Regions from separate parts of the Homo sapiens genome. Here region 1 is linked to region 2. The links are contacts of gene promoters, found by promoter capture Hi-C in blood cells and fetal thymus (Javierre and others, 2016). All regions are on one chromosome and are shown on one strand. The core of a region is centred on a gene start or on the middle of the fragment in contact, and the rest is flanking DNA. Distances in the headings are between cores, read along the strand shown.

What was found. The method cuts DNA at HindIII sites, captures the fragments that hold promoters and counts their contacts. A CHiCAGO score of 5 or more calls a contact.
Region 1: a fragment that was not itself captured here is called in contact with the fragment with the promoter of CKMT2 in region 2 in 2 of 17 cell types (endothelial precursors and M1 macrophages); the score reaches 5.6 in endothelial precursors.

What each region holds. Positions count from the first base shown.
Region 1 is chr5:80,710,855-80,717,261 of GRCh38, reverse strand. The region is part of intron 8 of MSH3 (mutS homolog 3); the gene reads right to left. Among named protein-coding and RNA genes, the nearest start is that of DHFR, 59 kb to the right of the region's middle. The HindIII fragment of the contact is 1,363 bases long and covers 3,871-5,233 here.
Region 2 is chr5:81,231,714-81,237,789 of GRCh38, reverse strand. It overlaps CKMT2 (creatine kinase, mitochondrial 2), which reads right to left and starts at 4,468. Exons shown (of 10, transcript NM_001099735.2): 1 at 4,413-4,468. CKMT2-AS1 (CKMT2 antisense RNA 1) reads left to right here. Exons shown (of 2, transcript NR_034123.1): 2 at 1-225. The HindIII fragment of the contact is 4,095 bases long and covers 1,814-5,908 here.

The DNA.
Region 1 (6,407 bases), core at 3,303-5,802, 520 kb after region 2:
AAATAGAACTATTACATGATCCAGCAATCTCACTACTGGGTATACATTCAAAGGAAACAAACTCAGTATGTCAAAAAGATATCTGCATTCTTACATTTACTGCAGCACTATTCTCAACAGCCAAGTTATGGACTCAGCCTAAGTGTCCATCAATGGATGAACAGATAATGAAAATGTGGAATATACACACAATGGAATACTATTCAGCCCCCCCCAAAAAATGAAACCCTGTCCTTTGCAGTAACATGGATGGAACTGAGGTCATTATGTTAGGTAAAATAAGCCAGGTACCAAAAGACGAATATCACATGTTCTCACTCAAATGTGGGAGCTAAAAAAGTTGATCTCATAGAGGTAGAATAATGGTTACCAGAGCTTTGGGGAGGGAGGTAATGAGAAGCTGGTTAATGGGTACAAGCATACAGTTAGATAGAAGGAATAAGTTCTAGTGTTTGATAGCACAGTAGGGTAGGACTACAGTTATCAATAGTTTATCATATATTTCAAAATAGCTAGAAGATATTAAATGTCTGACATAAAGAAATGTTGTGTCTGAGGTGACAGGTATCCTAAACACCTGATTTTATAATTATACATTGTATACACATATGAAAATATCACATGTACCCCATAAATATGTATAAATATTATGAATCAAGAATAAATATGTAAAAAAATATAAGTTTCTCAAAAAAGGTGTTAGGCACAGTGGCTCACACCCGTAATCACAGCTACTCAGGAGGCTGTGGCAGGAGGATCGCTTGAGGCCAGGAGTTTGAGACAAGCCTGGCAACAGAGCAAAACCCAATCTCTGCAAAAACAAAAAAAAGATAGTTGTCAGATACTATCATAAAAGACACAGGAGAGAAATAAAAAAAAAGACTTCCATTTAGAGCACTTCAACAAGTTTTCTTTTAAGAATCGACCTTTAGAACAAAAAAATCATAAAGAGGAATTACTCTAAATAAAAGTTTACTGAGGAATTTTCTATCTAATAAAGAAATAAATATAAAGCAGTTGAAAGATAGGTGTGGGGTAGGGAAAACTAGCATTTTTTATTAGTCAACACAATTCTGAAATAGAGTCTATATAATGCTTTTAAACATTCACAGGCATTTCTACCAGCTACTCTTATGGCTCATAGTGAATGGCAGAATGATCACTTTTAAAAATGCTTAGCAGACATTTATGGAGTGCCTACTGCACGTTACCCCTCAAGCCCTTGTACCACACTGCTGCCAGAGAGAGCACTAAAGATGAAGACATTGCACTTGCCCTCTGACTCCTTCAATAGCTCCCCATTTCTGTGATCAGGAAAAGTGCTTCCATATATGATATGGTTGGAATTTGTGTCCCTGCCCAAATCTCGTATCAAATTGTAATCCCCAGTGCTGGAGCAGGGACCTGGTGGGAGGTGACTGGATCATGGGAGTGGACTTCCCCCTTGCTGTTCTTGTGATAGTGAGTGAGTTCTCATGAGATCTGGTTGTTTGAAAGTGTATGGCACCTCCCCCTCTCTCTTCCTCCTGCTCCAGCCATGTAGGACTTGCCTGCTTCCCCTTCACCTTCTGCCACGACTGTAAGTTTCCTGAGGCCTCCCCAGCCATGCTTCCTGTGCAGCCTATGGAACCCTGAACCAATTAAACCTCTTTTCTTTATAAATTACCCAGTCTCAGGTAGTTCTTTATAGCAGTGCAAGAACAAACTAATACAACAGAGCACATCTAAAATTCTCTAACAAAACAAATACCACCCCCCACCCACCACTGTCATAGAGCTTACTTTCTAGTAGGATTAAGCAGAAAATAGTAAAGAAAAATAATAATAATGTTAAAAAGTAATTTTTTATGGTGATCTGACTCCCTCACCTTCCTCAGGTCTCCATTCAAGTCATCATCTCAGTGAAACTTTCCCCGATCACCTGGTGTGAAATGGCTCTGCTCACTAGGATCCATGAGGATGGGAACTTTTGTCAGTGTTATTTCTGCTGTATTCAATGCCTGGAACAGTGCCTAGTATAAAACAGGTACTCAACCTATAAAGTAGTGCTGAATAAAGGAATGAATGAGTACAAGTTCCAGAACTACGGCTCTCCTTGCTGTGGGCGGCATTATTCCCATTTTAAAAATGAGTAAATTGAACTTGAGACATTAAGTACAATGTCCAAAGTAATGAAGAGATAACAGATTAACAGATATTCAAACCAAGAGTAGCTAGGTCCAAAGGCTTTATCTGTTCTACTACAAGCCTAGGCAGGCATAAGCTGATTCAGGAAGAAACCTAAGAGGGAGGATATTCTCCCATCTGTGGTGCTGAAGAAGGATTTTTCTACCTTAATCCACTAGAGAGAGAGAGTATCGGACTAACTACTGCAAAGTTCTTATCAATTTTTATCTTCCTGTAGACTTCCTCAATACCTGGATTTTTAGAAGTCTGCAATAAAGTTTATTTAGCAACTCAAAAACGAATGACCTTACATGAGCTCCACAATGTTTTTAGACAAGTTCCTAGAGTGAACACAAGAGGCAGCTGGTTACTCAATTACAGTTCTAATTAAAATTTTGTTTGATAAGCAGATAAGGATTTAGAAACCCATTAAGTTTGATAAAAATGGACTTGTCACTTATCCTTGAGGCTTTCCTGGAAGCTTTACAAGAATGTTAAATTCATCGTTCTGCAATCTGTATATTAAACCATCTTCACATAAATATTTTTTCAAACTGGTTAAAGTTATAAAATCTCCTATCTCTATTTTCCTGGATTTCTTAATTAAAGAACGTTATGATAAATTCAAATCACTGTATCTCTGAAACAAAAGTCTATTTGGGCCAGACGTGGTGGCTCATACCTGTAATCTCAGCACTTTGGGAGGCTCAGGAGGGCGGATCACCTGAGGTCAGGAGTTCCAGACCTACCTGGCCAACATGGTGAAACCCTGTCTCTACTAAAAATACAAAAATGAGCCGAGTGTGATGGTGGGCACCTATAATCCTAGCTACTCGGGAGGCTGAGGCAGGAGAATCGCTTGAACCCGGGAGGCGGAGGTTACAGTGAGCCAAGATTGCACCACCACACTCTAGCCTGGGTGACAGAGTGAGACTCCATCTCAAAAAAAAAAAAAAAAAAAAAAAGTCTATTTGAAATTCTGCACACATGCCTAGCATCCTACCAGAATTCTGTCACATAGATTTTAGGAAAATTTCTACTTTAACCTTTTCATATGTAACATGCCTCTCTGTTGCTGAAGGTATTTTTTGAAAAATTAAAGGGTAATAAACCTTGCAGAACTGTCAGTCTTGATTTCCTCAAACTGTAGTCTGTGGGACACCGGCATCAGAGTCACCTGCAAAGAAGTACAGATTCCCACCCGAAAGGTGCTAAATCTGAATTCAGCAGGAAGTTAGAGGAGAGCGAGCATTTTCAACAGGTTTCCTGGGGTGAGTCACAGGCAAACTGCAGACTTAAGAATAGCAGGCGACAAGAACAATACCGGTAGCCACCATAGGACTGGAGTAAAAATGGATGGAAATCTGCTCCAAAGACATGTATCCAATGGTAGTCTATGATTCACCTGCTTTATTAGAGGTGGACAGTAAATACCACTGCATCAAAAAAATTAAGTTATCTATGATTATATAATTGACCCAGATCTAAAAAATTATAAAACCACATTCCCTTGACCGCTACAGAGGCTATTTGTGCTGTGGGGCTGAAGCCTCCTGAATGGAGAGGAGCATGAACAGAAGATGTGCTCCTCCCAAGGTGGCAACCTCCCTTCTGTCCTTGTTGGTGGGACTCACAACAAGACAGTCATCTCGGTCTCTCAGTCATTACACAGGGCATGCCAAGCTAGACGGTTAAATTAAAGCTTCTAATTTTAAAAAAAAGAAATCCTTTTCACATGTAACATGCCTCTCTGTTGCCTACCATATTGCTTTTGAAAAACTAAATGCTCTCTCAGCAAGTGTTGAGCCCACATTAAAACAAGGGAACTTCAGAACCAATAATATCTTTTAATGTCTGCTTGGAAATAAAACTGGTGACTCTCTGGCATCAAATAACAGACCACCAACAGAGACTCTGAACTAATGTTCAACTGTGAACAAACAAATGTCAGCTTACCAATTGCATGATCTATACCGACTTTAGAAACTCATAGACAAAAAGAGCCTTGTTAAAGGTGGACAGTATCCTCTGGGAAAACTTACAAGGCCCCCTCTGACAGTGAACTCATTGGTAATAATAGCACTGATGAGTTCCAAGCCGAGTAATTCATTCTCTCCTCTGAAGACAGAATGAAACAGGGTTCTTGACTGAGTAGGACAGACAAGGTAACCTGGCTTTAATATCTCCATATTAGAATTACTATGAAACTCATTAATTTTATCAGTGCTCACAGTAGGGAACAACCACCACTTTCTTAGAAGACTAAGGGCATTATTTGAAATTATAATTCTAAAACCAACCACCAGGACAAAACCAACAAAAAAAAAAGATGCAAAGAAAACAGATCACATCGTGAAAGATTATTTAAAAGATATAAAAATAGAAAATATAACACAAAATAGTATAAACTAATATCAAATATATCTGACATATTAAAGGGCTAAATTCACCTATTAAAAGAAAATTAAATTCAGATTGGATCACAGAGGGGAAAAAAACCCCAAAATTCTATGCTACAAATAGGAGTGCAATCCAAAACAAAGTAATTCAGAAAGGTTACAAATTAAAAAGATGGCTGAAAAACAACAACTGCCTAGAGGTATATATTAGGTGAATACAAATAAAAAGAAAGTATGAGATCAAATCTTATTACCAGGAAAAATAAAATTCGAATAAAAACCATTAAAACAGGACAATGAAGGGTGTTTTTATAATAGTAAAAGGGACAGGATGGAAGAAACTCTTTACCTCATAATCTTTTTAAAATACTTTCCATTTTTTGAACTAAAATATACAACTTATTAAAAAATAAAATGGCATATTAGAAAAGAGAAAGAAGAGAAAAAATGGATTACAGGATTTATACAGGAGCTCCCAGAAGGAGATGCTGGTCCTCTTCCCTGGACTAGAACCCTGGAGGCTGGGAGTCAGGACAGAGCACTGGAGCATCCTGCCACCTTGTGGAACACCAGGAGGCAGCCATCACAGGAGGAGAGGAAAGAGCAGAGCCCCTACAACCAGCCATGCCCAATTCCAGCCATGCCTGATTCCAGCCTGCCTTCAAGCTTTTCACTTACGAGCCAACAGCTTCATTTTCAACTAAAATTTTTTTCAATAAAAACTCATTAGAAAGTGTAGTGCTGGCCGGGCGTGGTGGCTCACACCTGTAATCCCAGCACTGTGGGAGGCCGAGACAGGTGGATCACTTGAGGTCAGGAGTTCAACACGAGCCTGGCCCACATGGTGAAACCCTGTCTCTACTAAAAATACAAAAATAGCTGGGTATGGTGGTGCAGGCCTGTAGTCCCAGCCACTCAGGGGGCTAAGGCAGGAGAATCGCTTGAACCCAGGAGGCGGAGGTTGCAGTGAGCCGAGATGACACCATTGTACTCCAGCCTGGGCAACAGAATGAGACACCATGTCAAAAAAAAGAAAAAAAAGAAGAAAAAAAGAAAATGTGCTGTCTTCAAAAAGGGGTCTCCTGCTGTCCAGAGAAGGAAATAGACACAATCGCATAGCTTCTTAGAAGGATGGCAGCCCCTACTGAAGTCCACATGGCCAACAGTGAACCAAGGTGAGGAAGACCCAGTTTGACAGTCAGCTGGTGAGTCCTCCTCGGAATGAGCCAACAGGAAGACACAGCACCTGTGGGAGGTTCTGGAGGCCCAAAAAACCCCTCCTTACCAACAGAGGCGAAAGGGCCTTAGCCAACTTACCACAAGGGACTGAAAACTAAAAGCAGATGTAGGGCCCACGCTTCTTCAGGCTTAAAGAGGCCTGAGGTGAAGAAACACACCAGGACCTATCCGCAAAGGAGAGGCCTGTTTGGGAGCAAGGGAGGATTGAGAATTTCCCCACTATGGGAACTCCATGGGGCCTCAGACTCAAGGCTAGCACAATGAGAGCTGGGCTGTTCAAAAGGCTAAGAGAGACAGGAGGTATTACCATAAGGCAGAAAGTCTATACTAGGTAAACTCGTGTTGTTCTAAAACTTTTTTTCTAGTTTTTTCTACACTTTTGATTATACCTTTGCTTCTTTTGTAATGGTTGGTTTTGGTTTTGTTTTTAAAGGTAAAATTCTAACAAAAAAATTCTAGTCTGTCTTGGCAAACCTGATGGGAAAGTACTTCTGTCTGCAATGAGGTTAAAAACACTAAGAGGATCAGCGTGCAACTTGGAAACCAAAGGAAAGGGGAACACTCGAAGGGGGAGGGAATGGCAGAGAAGTCAAGGGCTGAGAG
Region 2 (6,076 bases), core at 3,219-5,718:
CGGTTGCAATTTGTAACAATGATGTATATATACATATACATTTTCATGTATTTGTATGAACATAAAAGTATTGAAGGATATTCATCAAACTGCTAAAAGGGTTGCTTCAGAGTAACGGACTCGGAGAAGGCAGATTAATTTTCTCTTAATGGAACTCTGTATTGTATCACTTGTAAAAATAAGCATGTGTTATCTTTATGATAAAAAAGTAAAAACCTAAAAAAGAAAATTTTGATGTGTGTTAAAATTTTGGATTTCTAGGCTCCACCTTTTTTGAATGAGTCTCTCCAAGAGTGGGGCCCTCACATGTATAATGAGAAAAAGCTCCCCGATTACAGGATGTTACCAAGCCCCGCTAGGTGTAGGAACCCTGCTTGGTACCCACCCGAGCCTCAGCAGCTCCTCCCCATCATGGGCATGATGAGGTCTCCCTGTGAGGTGTTGTGAAGACGACGGGACAGGCTGCAGTAGGCACTGAATAAATGAGTCCCTTCCCCTGATGACCCTAAGGCTATGGGATCATCATCACTCCCTCCCCAAAGCCACACCTGATTATTCCAGCCAGCACTCGGCCTGCCCCTTTTCTGAATGCTTTTTGATTTTAACTTACATTTTTCGCATTTAAATGTTTCATTTAATTTGAGAAAGAGTCTCGCTCTGTCACCCAGGCTGGAGTGCAGTGGTGCGATCTCAGCTCACTGCAGTCTCCACCTCCTGGGTTCAAGCAATTCTCCTGCCTCAGCCTCCCAAGTAGCTGGGATTACAGGCGCCCACCACCACATGTGGCTAATTTTGTACTTTTAGTAGAGATGGGATTTTGCCATGTTGGCCGGGCTGGTCTCGAACTCCTGACCTCAAGTGATCCACCTGCCTCAGCCTCCCAAAGTGCTGGGATTAGAGGTGTGAACCACCACAGCTGCCTTCTTTTAATTTGTATTTTCTATCTCTGCGGACAAGACTTCAAAGGTGTCTATCACATACTTTCAGATCTACTGATCATCCTCTGAAAACCAACATCGGGGTTCACAAAATGGATTTAACCAATTGGGCTCCCCAGTTCTTCTTCCAGACTCCACCCCTCCAACAGTGTCTCCAATGACTTCCTGGCATCACTGAACAGGTCCTTCACTTTGCCACCTCTGAGCCTTTGCTTGAGTGTTTTCTTTCCCCTGGAATATCCTTTCCAACCCTATACACCGACTGAGTCAAACCTTCTGTCTTCTTTTTGAGCATTTATGAGCTCCTATCATGAGCCATGCATTATGTAAGGGACCTTACAAACACAATCAGTCTATGTAACAATCCTGCCAAGTATGCTTTATTTTGGGCATGGGGAAACAGAGGCTCAAGAGAAGTGACCTGCCCCAGGTTTCAGTGCCAGCACACTAGTAGAGCTGGGATTTGAACCCAGGTTTGTCTTTTGCACTGGATTCAGCTTCCTTGCAGACCGCAGCACCTCACATACAGCCCTTCACTGACCAGCAATTGGAGGGAAACCACCCCTGTGGCTTAAAACCTGTGGTGCCACAGATCATTCCACTCAGTCAAACCCCCAAGACCGTAGAAGTGCATTTAACACAGCAGCTCCTAGGCACAGGATTGTCACCTCAGGGCATATGACTTCTAAAGTTGCAGATTATAAACTTGTTCTCTTTCCCTGTCCTCAGGCTCCCGCTGAAGTAACCCAGACGCCAGGGATATCTCTGCCCGCTCCACTCTGACTCTAGTGCTCAATGTGCCTGCCAGGCCTTGCTAGGGATGCTGTGCCAGTGTGAAGAGGAAGGTGGTCTCCAGCTCTCACCCCATAGAAGCTTTCTGCCTCAGTTTCCCTAACCTGGAACACCACAATGACTCCTGAATTGAAAAACACTGCTTACAGCATCTAGGCTAAAATTGGCAGAATACCTGGGCTCCAAGCCAGGGAGATTTGGAGCGATGGGGAGGTGCAAGAGCACAGCCAGACAGAGCCAAAAGCAATAATATCCTGTTTGTTCCTACACTGCCCTCCGCATTAAAAAAACAACGACAGCTACATCAAGCCCTTTTGTTAAGTGGCCACAAGCTGTACATTTCTTGGTCCCAGGCAGGTATACTGGGAGTTCAGATCCTGGTCTTAATGCTCTTCTCTGGTTCTGTGACATCCTAGAATGTGAAGAGGAGGCCTTGGGTTCTGTCACTGCCTCCAGCCCGAGCCCCCTGCTCTTCCTGGGCATCCCGGATGGACCATGTCTGCCTTTCTGCTGACTCAGATTTATTTCTGGTCCAGCCATTCACAGCGTCCATGTGTCTGAACTCCTCAGCCAGAGGGCAGGTGGAAGGGCAGGAGGAGGACCACGTGTCAGCTTTCCATCCAGAGAGCCACCCCAAAACAGAGGATGTCCTTGGGCTTGGACCAGCTCCACAGAACACTCTGAACAAATTCTCACGATGCCAGGCTCCTAGGCCGCAGAAAATGCCTGTCTCCTCCCAGTTCTAAGATAGCAAAGGGTGTGCGTTACCTCAAAACCACTTAGTACGCAGCCAACCTTAATGGGCACTCTTGGCATTACTGTTCTACTCAGCAAATAGACAGTCCTAGGCAGGAAGGAGATATTTAGAATCCTACTCTGTAAAACAGAGGCCTTTCCTAGGCCTCCTGTGATGAAGGCATGGGACCGTTACCAGACTTTGTCCCTCAAGGGTAAATTGTTTTCAAGAAAACAGGAAGCTAGGAGCCATCTAGTCCTTTGAAGTGCTGTGAAGTGGGCTGCCTTCTTCCCCGCCCAAGGGAGGGAGTCTCTGAGGCTTCCTGGCAAGGGTTAGTGTGACCTCCAGCAGTCACCTTCAGCATGGGTTGCTGCTGGATTCCTGGCTCTGTGGGCAGGAGCTCCCAGAATGCTTGACACAGACTCTACGTGGCTTCCTTTGGGAAGACAAATGGAGCCTGCTGTAGGCTATGGCAGAGATGGAGGCCCAGGGCCTCTGAGCTAGGGGCAAAGTCAGTCTCCCTCCTGTGTCTGAAACCCCAGGACTCCCCATTCTGTATGGTACTCCCCCCGACCCAACCCACAGTTTCCTTAGGAAAACTGACCTGCCTATGGCCCATTTCCTAATGATATGATTTGGTCATGAGGCTGGCAGAGTCCATGGGGTGCATGTGGCACTCCTGTGCTTTGCTGTGACAGTGCCTTAACCCACAGGCGTGATTAACTCCAAAGTCTGGGGTCTTTGGAAAAGGTGCCTATCAATGCAGAGGAAGTGAAGTGCTCAGACCGCCAAACAAGGCCAAGAGCCTCCCGGAAGAGCCTGCCTGTCAGGAAGTCTCTGGCCACATGCTGTGGCCATGCTCGCCTCTATGAGAGGACAGAGAGAACAGACCAAGGACACGAGTTCAGAACAGAGAAAATGTGAGAGCCGTAGACAGGAAAAGCAGCCCTTCTGGAAACAGCACACTGGTGTACCTAGCGTAACCTTGTCCTGAGGGCCACTAACTGCCCCTCACTTGACTCAGCTGACACTGTGAGGGGTCACGAGCCTGGCAACACTTTCTGGAAGGTCTAAAGGGCAGCACTGAGGAGACCTAAAGGTTTTGGTCTGTTTGTCAAATGTCACTCTTCCTCACATTCGGAGGAGAGCATTTGAAGGCAGACCACTCTAGGGGCAAGAACAGGACTGATTTTAACCCCGGGACAACCAACCAAGCAAGCAAGCTAGTGAAGAACAGGCCTCTGCCCAGGTGAAACACGTGGGGCCAATTCCATAGGTTTTTTTTTTTTTTTTTTTTTTTTTAATTAACCTCCGGTGGGAAAGGTAAGGATGGTGGGGAGGGGAGACGGTTACTTGTCTCATTATCAATGTGTTAGTATTAGTGACGGCAAAACTGAATCTCTAGCAATACTATTTGCCCGTTTAAACTGGGCCTGGCTATTGGGCTTATGAGCAAATAGCTTCTCAAAATTTTAATTTTCTAGTTAGTTCATCCCAAGTCACTGATTTACATGTCTTTTGAGACTGAGACTGCTGGGGAAAAACATTCCCAGAAATGAGTGGATTAGACTCTGTGAATTACAAGGGAAAGACACTTTAAGTTTAAAGTTGTCCCAAACTTAGCGTCAAAATACAGCCTTTAGATTTTTTTTTCCATCGAGAAAAATTCCTGATTCACTACCAAAAAGAGGCCCTGCAGGCAGCGTGCTGATTTGTTCTGCTCCTGGTGCTGAGCTGCCCCCACCTGTGTGCAGGGAGGAGGGGTCGCTTCGGCCAAGGGCGGGAGCTCTGCTGGCTTTAGCGAGTCACCATTGCCTCCTCGCAGTCAGCGTCCTAACGGGGTCCCCGTCTACAGCCCGGCATCCACTCCTCCAAGGCCCTTCACACTGGCTCTAGCCATGACCCCTCTTTGGAGGAATAAAGCAGAGTTTCACGGACTCACCGACCTTGAAGCCGGAGCCTCCCACGTCCTGCTGAGCGCACACAGCCAAGAAGTGTATGCAGGGCGAGCTGGTCGGGCCGGCCTGGAAATCCTCCCTGGCGGGGCGGGGCCAGAGGACCTCACCAATCCCAGCGTAGACCTCCGGGCGCACCGGCCCCCACAGCTGTACCCTTGAAGGCAGGCCCGTGGGCGCTGGGCCCTTTATAGCACCTGCCCTTTCTCTGAAACGTAAAAGGCGGAGCCAGTCTTGCTTCCCAGGCCTGGTCCTGGAGGCTCCTTTGCCAGGGCTCTGGATCTCAGAATGGAAGGGCCAGCAGGTGAAATTGCACATCTGTTGGGGGATTTGTTTCTCTCTTCTCTCAGGTGTACCAGCCTTGGGGCCCTGGTGAGCTCTGGAGGATGAACCCCTCAAGCCAAGGTCGGAGAGGAGGATGTCTCAAGCTGCCTGGCTCCAGCAGCTGACCGGGCCCTGAGCCAGGGGCTGGAGGGACCTCCTTCCAGCGTCTTTGTCTGGGACCTGGATCCAGGGACAATTACAGTCAGGTTTCTGTTCAAGATCAGGCCCCCTGCAGTAGATGGCTAGATCATCTCGCTTTCTGTCCACACCAGCTTAACCCACGGCAGGCCATAGCCCTGCTTAAAAATAGCCCCGCTTGGGATATCCACCGCACGCCGGGAAGGCTGCCTGTAAATAGCAATGACCCAGCAGGATTTTGGACAGCAGCCCTGCCATTTCAAGGGAGCCTGCCTAGGCATCTGGTGACCGTCACGTACTCAGCTTCTGAGGCCACGTGGACATGACCAATTGGTTCCTGTCTCTTCCTTCTCAGAGCCCAGCTCATGCTCAGAGGACTTGATGGAGCAAGGGGTGGAGCCCCAGGAATAACCTTCTACCCAGTGTGGTTCTCCTTCATTCTCTGAAGGAGTTTCCATTTCTTTTAAACACGACCCATGTTTAAAAATATCATCTATTTTACCTTTGCATGGGGTACTGACAGGGAGAGCACGTGAGGGGGCCTTTTGGCGGGATGGGAAGTTTCCTGATTGGGGTGGTTATATAAAGATTGGGACCAATCAAATTAATTTCATAATCCTTTAAGGAGTCAAGACCCACCAGCTTGCATATTCTATCATCAGGGCAGTCTCGGTTTATTCCTTCTCAAAATAGCTCTTTTCCACACACACTTGTTTCAAGTCAGTTCAGGCACCAACTGAAATAAATCCATTGACCCTGAAATAGCCCAGCTCCCAGATCCAGAAAATTATAAGGCTTTTAAAGAGCATGGAATTGTAGATTTAAAGAATGGCAGTTATAGCAAAAACCTCCTTTTCCTCCCCAATTGCCTAATCAACATTTAGGGCCCCCTCCACTCACCCGACCTCAACACCTTATATTTTATAGAGTAAATGTTTATGTTAGTAAGGTCAGAAGAAAAATTGGGTCATTGTTGAGAAAAGAGGGTACCACCCTTCTTTTGGGGGACTGGTCCTCTTCAAGCTTATTATAAAGGTGGTGTGATGGGGATGAAATCTCTACAAGGGACTCACAGTAGAAATTCTGGCTTTCTGGAAATCTTTCAAATGCCATCCCTGTCACATGGCATCTATTCCCTTCTCATCGTTACCAACTCCTTTTGAAGCTCTGGGGCTCTAGCCACACCAGGCTGC